Linked DNA regions of Homo sapiens: region 1 is linked to region 2. The links are contacts of gene promoters, found by promoter capture Hi-C in blood cells and fetal thymus (Javierre and others, 2016). All regions are on one chromosome and are shown on one strand. Each heading gives the region's core, a stretch centred on a gene start or on the middle of the fragment in contact. The rest is flanking DNA. Distances are from core to core; before and after follow the strand shown. Region 1 overlaps MTMR7 (myotubularin related protein 7). Region 2 holds the start of PCM1 (pericentriolar material 1).

Region 1 (3,541 bases), core at 792-3,291, 560 kb after region 2:
TTTAGAAATTATCATTTTGCTTTCTGGGTAGAAAAACATTAAAGCTGGACTCCTGTTTCATTAGTTATATGATTTAATTAGATAATATATGATACTGTAAATACCAAGATTTCCACTTAACTTTTTCTGAATGTTTTTTAAAAATTAAAGGTGCACATTCAGTTTACTCCCACAGTCCAAAGGCATTTTGAGTATTTGCTTCTTATTGGAGGAGCTCTTGTGTAATGGGGCCCCTTAGGGTGAGGCCTTCGTTGCACTTCCTGCTGAAAGCTGCTGGTCACTAACAGCAAAAGATGTTTTAGTTGGATATGCTGGCTTAGACTGTGATGGGAAAAGCCAGAGGAGCTTTTAACATGCCTGTTTTAAGAGTGGGTAGAAAATCAGGTGAGGGATATGACCTTCCTAGAGTGGGCAAATATTTTCTCTCTGTTCAGATTCTGTAAATATTAAAGATTTGTCTAAAATATAAGAAGCTTCTGCATAACAAAGGAAATTGAAGAAAAGACTTGGAAGCCATATACCTGATAAAGGATTAATACCCAAAATATGTCAGGAACTCAAACAACTCTATAGGAAAAAAAACAAGTACTCTGATTAAGAAAAGGACAAGGGACCTCAAGAGACATTACTCAAAAGAAGACATAGATGGCTAACAGATACATGAACAAACGCTCAACCTCAATAATCATTAGGGAGATGCAAATTAAAACCACAGTGAGGTATCGCCTCACAACTGTTAGAATGACCTTTACCAAAAAGATGGAAGACAACAAAGCTTTGGCAAGGGTGGGGAGGAAAGAGAATGCTTATGCACTGTTGGTGGGAATGTAAATTAGTACAAGCCATTATGGAAAACAGATGGAGGTTCCACAACAAACAAAAAATAGAATTATCGTATGATTCCACAATCCCACTTTTGAGTGCTTACTGGAAAGATTGAAATCGGTAAGTTAAAGAAACGTCTGCTCTCACATTTTCGTTGCAGCACTATTCACAGTAGCCACGTTGTGGAATCAACTTAAGTATCCATCATTGGATGAAGAGATAAAGAAAACATGGTATATACAAATAATGGAATGCTATTCAGCCTTAAAAAGGAAGACATTGTGTTATTTGTGACAACATGGATGGAATTAGAGAGCATTATGCTGAGTGAAAAAAGCCAAACATAACAAATACCATATGTTCTCACTTACATGTGGGATCTATGACAGTTAAACTCATAGAAGCAGAGAGTAGAATGGTGGTTACCAGAGGCTGGGGGTGGGGGACGTGGGGAGATGATGGTCAAAGGCTGCAAAGCCTCAGGCAGGAGGAATAAGTCTCATTATTTTGAAATCTGTTGCACAGTGTGTTGAGTATAGGTAATAGTTCAGTAGTGTACATTTCGAAACGCTAAGAGTAAATTTCAGATGTTCTCGTTACAAAAAATGTTAAATACTTGAGGCAATGTATATGTTAATTAGCTTGAATTAATCATTCCACATTGTAGTCAAAAATCATAACATCACTTTTTGACCGGGCGCGGTGGCTCACGCCTGTGATCCCAGCACTTTGGGAAGCCGAGGCGGGCAGATCACAAGGTCAGGAGATCGAGACCATCTTGGCTAACACAGTGAAAACCCGTCTCTACTAAAAAAAAATGCAAAAAATTAGCCGGGCGTGGTGGCGGGCTCCTGTAGTCCCAGCTACTCCGGAGGCTGAGGCAGGAGAATGGCGTGAACCCGGGAGGCGGAGCTTGCAGTGAGCCGAGATCGCGCCACTGCACTCCAGCCTGGGCGACAGAGCGAGACTCCGTCTGAAAAAAAAAAAAAAAAAAAAAAAAAATAATAGCAACACTTTTTACCCCAGAAATATATGAAACTGTAATTCATCAATATATTATTAAAAAGTCTGTAAGCAAAAAAAAAAAAGGATTGTCAAGCCCTAGGTTTTTTTTTTTTAAGCTTGCCTCCCAGCTAATTGCTAAACATTCTGCTAAATATTTGGTAAAAGTAGAGAACGAAAAGAACAGAAAATTATGACATGGGAACAATTCAGTAAAACTTTCATCTGTGCTAGTGGCGCTTTTCGATTTCTTAGAGTAGGCAGAGTCTGCAGGCTGTATCTGGGCTTGCCTGTGGGTAAGAAGCTTGCCCATATTGACATGACTGTTGGCTGACAAAAATGGGCTTTTCCTGGCCCTCGTGTACAATTTTCCTTAAATTGGGCATAAGGATTGGTTGATCACCCTTTTCCTTAAAAAAGGGAAAATTTCATAATTTCAGTGTCAACCCATCCTAAGGTCTCCTAGTTCAACAGTGATCTGCTTAATGTCTGTTATAAATTATTCTTGCTGTAATTTATGGATAATTTCGTTGCCTCTTCCCAGTGGAAACAGGTATCAGCCCACACGCAGAAAACTGTCAGTAGTCATAGGATGTTTTTCTTCTTCTACCTTTAAAGCTATTTGTAAATATTTAACAAAGAGAACTTAACTGCCATTATTACCCCATATTCAGTAGCTCTTCTTTCACTCAGGGAACTGAGGCTTTCTCAAGAGATTCCTTTGGCATCCTAAACAACTTGCATTTGTGGTTAACATTATGGTAGCAGAAGCCTGAGTCATGAAAATGGTACTTAGAGATGGAAAAGATGTGTCAATGTTGAGCCAACTGTTCCCAGAACAGGATCTGAGGTTTCACATGCTGTCAGCAACATTAGCTAAGATGATAAGAAATTGATTTTACGGAACGCGTCTGCTCTGGTTTGTGTGTGAGCACGCCTGGATGTGCGTATTTTGTTATTTGTCCAAATAGTCCGTACTCTAAGTTTTGAAGTTTAGAAACATGACATGGAGAAAGACTGAAATAGAATATAATTTATCTCACTGACATACAGCAGTTGCTTCTTACTCTCAAGAAAAATGAAGAAATCTGGTGCTTAAAATATGACCCTTATCTTTCCTCTTCCATGCAGATGAGTCATCTCAAGTTTGAAACCTGAGTTTTCATGTCAGGCTGCCTGTGTGTTGCTGCAGCCTCTTGCTGGTGGCAAGATTCTATAAAGGGCTACACATACATGTATTTAGGAAACTTAAATTGTTCACACTGAATACTATCACTATGCTAAGGACATAGGAGGACCTAGGAAAGCTATGAGAAAGAAGTATATTGGAGAAAAACAGGAAGATTAGGGGCCTGGAACGAGGAAGGAAGAAGAAGAGAGAAGGATCTGCGTTTGGGGAGGGTGTGTTACAATTAGGAGCAGGCCTTCTGCAGCCAGATGTCTCATTTAAACCTGGACTCTCCGGTAACTGGCTGTGTGACTCTGAGGGAGGGAGTGTGCCTCCCGTTTGCGTCAGATTTCTCGTCGGTAAAATGAGGACCATCAATGTTGCCTACTAACTGGATTAATGCACTTAATTGCGACAGAATCTGGAACAAAACAAGGTCTGAGTATCAGTTATCCTTTATTATCATCAGAAATGCTTAGATCTGCACTGTCCAAGGTGGTAGCCACTGGCCACAGATAGCTGTTCAGCGCTACTGCAAACTGAGGT
Region 2 (3,312 bases), core at 87-2,586:
TAAAAGCTACTGTACTTCATAATAAAATAACCTCGTCACTACATAAATACCAGGTTTACCTTCAATTCAAAAACTCTGTATTATATTGGTGTTCAGGGGTCCTCACCAGGAAGGTGCTAGGGAAAGAAAGGAGCAGGTGCACCCGAGGCTCTGCAACACCCACTCCGGTAACCAGAGAACACCAGCAGGCGGAGTCTGGAAAGCGGTTATGGGGCGGGGGTGGTAGGGGCGCCCAGAAAGCCCGCTCCTTCCAGCGCCCAAACACGAACCGTCACCCGTAAGACACACAATACAGACCTCAACTCGCTCAAAAAAACAAAACAAAACAAAAAAAATTAAACCAGGCGAGTTCCTGGGGAGTAGGCTGAGGGATGCAAAGTTGGCGCGCCCAGCCTCCCTGGCGGGGCCTAATCCCCAAACGCCAGTTTCTGTAAACCAAACAACGTTTCCCCCAGTCCCACTTGGCATTTAGTCTTTCCCGGTTCTAGGCCCAATTCTAACTAGATAGGTAGGAAGGGAGAAAGAAGGGGCAATAATTACTCCATTAACCTTCCCAGGAACGCCTCCCCCGGCCCATCGGCTCCCACAGCACCAGAGACGGCGGAAATCCTGCAGCTCACAGCCCAACTGCAACTCTTCAGAGTCGCGTCGCTCCTCATCCGCCCTTCTACACCCCAAACTCTGGACACCGAGAGTTCCACAGAGGGAACGCGGGGAAGAACTATGGCCACCAAGGCCTGTTTCTCTAAGAACTCGACCCAGTGCCCCTAGCACCCAAACCAGAGTCCCCGCTCCGCTTCCTCCGCCCGCAAGGGGTATAGCCGGAGCCACCGGGACGCAGAACAGCCTCCCCGACAGGGCCAGCAGGAGGGGCGAGGAGGCAAGAAGGGAGTCCTGCAATCACCAACGCGTCGCGAGGTGCTCACCCGGGGATCCCGGCGATCAGTCCTGAGGGAGCGGGCGGACTGACCGCCTAGGGCACGGGAAGCCCGGGGCAGGAAGACCCGGGAACCTACAGAGGAGGCGTGGGCCCGTGGCCAGACCCAACAGGGCCGAGTGTCCCGGAGCCGTTACTCTCCCGCCTCTGGGGCGCGCCGCCCTAGGTTGCCAAGGGCTGGGGACGCGCAGGCATTACCTCTACAAGAAGCAGCCTCTCCTGTCAAAGGCAGAGCGACAGTCAGCCCCCACGACCCGCCGCCGGCAGCGGTCGGCCCTCGGAGACCGCAGCAGAGAGGCCCACACGTTTCCTGGCTGCCTCGGCCCCAGTGGCCGCCTTTTCGACCTCAGCTACGCAGCGCCAACCGCCGCAGCCACCGCCATCTTAGGATCTCATTGTGGTGGGAGAAGAGGGGCGGGGGTACTGCAGAGGGGGCAACGCGCGGCGGGACATGCGCCGTCTCCTCGGCAACGGCCGCGCGGGGGCGAGAACTCGCCCGGGCGGGAGCCGCAATGCGAGCTAGACTGGAGTCATGTGACCCGCCGGAGTCTGTGGTGTCGCTTCTGGCTCTTTAAGCCGAAAAGAGATTACACCAACGAATCCGCCCCCACCCGCCCAGGAACTATGTATCCCAGAATGCCAACTAGACCTCGCGTTCTAAACGCCTGCCGGCCACAGGTGGAGGACTACAAATCCCAGCATGCCGTGCGCTTCCGGCGCTGATCGCGGAGCGTGGGGCCCTAGGCCTATGCGGAAGTGCATTGATCCCTCAGCCCGTGGAGAAAGAGCGGAGGCGCTGTGCGGTTTTCCGTGGGGGTGTCAGCTCCGGCCCGTGCCGGAAGAAGGAGCCAAGACCGGGATCGCTTTTTTGCCCCTTCCTCACCCCACATTCGGTCACGAAGAGGTGGAAACAAAAGGACACTTACAATGTAGTCCAACCTCCTGATTTTACATATGAGGGGATTGTTCCACGGAAGTTAAACAATTTGCCAGACGTCATTATGTATCTACTGAGTGAGAGAATCATAAATATTGTTGATAGTTAACGCCACTTTTGGTTAATGTCCCTTTTCCTTAAAAGAGCCAGATGATTTTAATCCAAACTTAATTTCAGTAAATTTTCTCTGAACTATCTTTTTATTTATACTCTCCTGTTACAGCTCTATTAAGATTAATAAATTGGCAGGTCCTCCCTTTAAAAAACAAAAATCAATAAAGTCACAAGGCCTTCAATGTGCCTGACTGGAAAGGTAAAACACCTGTCAGTTTTAGTTGAGTGCAAGGGCATTCTTCTAGTTTTACGCAGTTTATAATTATGGAATAACTTTTTAAGCAAAATAAAGGTAAAAAGAAGAATTGCATTCTGGGTTTCAACAACAAAAACAAATTGTTCCCAAAATAGTAGGTCTGCATCTCAGTACGCAATTCACATAAAGCTCTTCTATCCCACTGCAATCTGCCACCGTAGGTTCAGTCGTGAGTGCATTGATCGTTGGTCAGACACTTTTTCCTCATATTCTGTGTGTGTATCGCTAACTACTGCGGTAGCAAAAATATAGTCCCTGCCCTTGAAGAGCTCATATTTTAGTGAAGGATGCGGAAGTGGAGTGTGATGTAAATAAAGTTTGTGTTGTAAGAAAAAGTGCTGTGGGAGCTCAGAACACAGCAGCTAAACGCTCAGGTGTTTATTGTAGTCCAGAATGCCCTATCCTAATTCCACCACTCCAAGATCCTGGACAAGCGACGTGCCTTTCTGAGCCTTAATTGCCCCATCTATGAAATGAGGGGGAAGGAATGATACTGCCTACCTTGAAAGGATTTTTTAAAAAATGTTCTCAGAGTTTGTTTTATGCCAGGCACACTGTAAAGCACTTCGGCTGTTGTGATTTTCTTGATCCTCACAGTTACCCTGAAGAGGCTGGTTCTGAATCTGACCCGTTTTGGCAATGAAAGATTATATAAATCAAACTTGTAGCAGCTGCAAGTGGTAGAGCCTAAATTTAAACGGAGGTCTATGTGATTCCTTTAAGATTTTTTTTAATTAAATACAACGCATATAAAAACACTAGTATATGTTGAGGCCCGAAATATTAGCTATCATCATTATTTTGCTTTATACATATGTATTATTATTAAACGTATGTAGAAGCTGTTATCATTAAAACAATTCTAATAAATTCAAAAGCGTGAAATTATAATACGTACTAGTCATTATGTTTTCTGAATTTATGAAGCTCCAGAATGTCAATACTATTGTTTATTAGGAGGTAGGAGGAATTTGAGAAATATTTACATTGAAATGTAGAAGCTGTTATCATTAAAACAATTCTAATAAATTCAAAAGCATGAAATTATAATATCTACTAGTCATGATG

What was found. The method cuts DNA at HindIII sites, captures the fragments that hold promoters and counts their contacts. A CHiCAGO score of 5 or more calls a contact.
Region 1: a fragment that was not itself captured here is called in contact with the fragment with the promoter of PCM1 in region 2 in 1 of 17 cell types (neutrophils); the score reaches 5.0 in neutrophils.

Annotation. Positions count from the first base shown.
Region 1 is chr8:17,362,308-17,365,848 of GRCh38, reverse strand. The region is part of intron 3 of MTMR7 (myotubularin related protein 7); the gene reads left to right. The region is part of intron 1 of LOC102724838 (a long non-coding RNA gene); the gene reads right to left. Among named protein-coding and RNA genes, the nearest start is that of MTMR7, 49 kb to the left of the region's middle. The HindIII fragment of the contact is 185 bases long and covers 1,949-2,133 here.
Region 2 is chr8:17,921,012-17,924,323 of GRCh38, reverse strand. PCM1 (pericentriolar material 1) reads right to left here and starts at 1,336. Exons shown (of 39, transcript NM_006197.4): 1 at 1,136-1,336. It overlaps LOC124901867, which reads left to right. Exons shown (of 4, transcript XM_047422505.1): 2 at 97-167; 3 at 558-815; 4 at 978-3,296. The coding sequence ends at 1,660. RefSeq lists enhancers at 309-368, 1,519-1,968 and a silencer at 830-1,124. The HindIII fragment of the contact is 6,694 bases long and covers 1-3,312 here.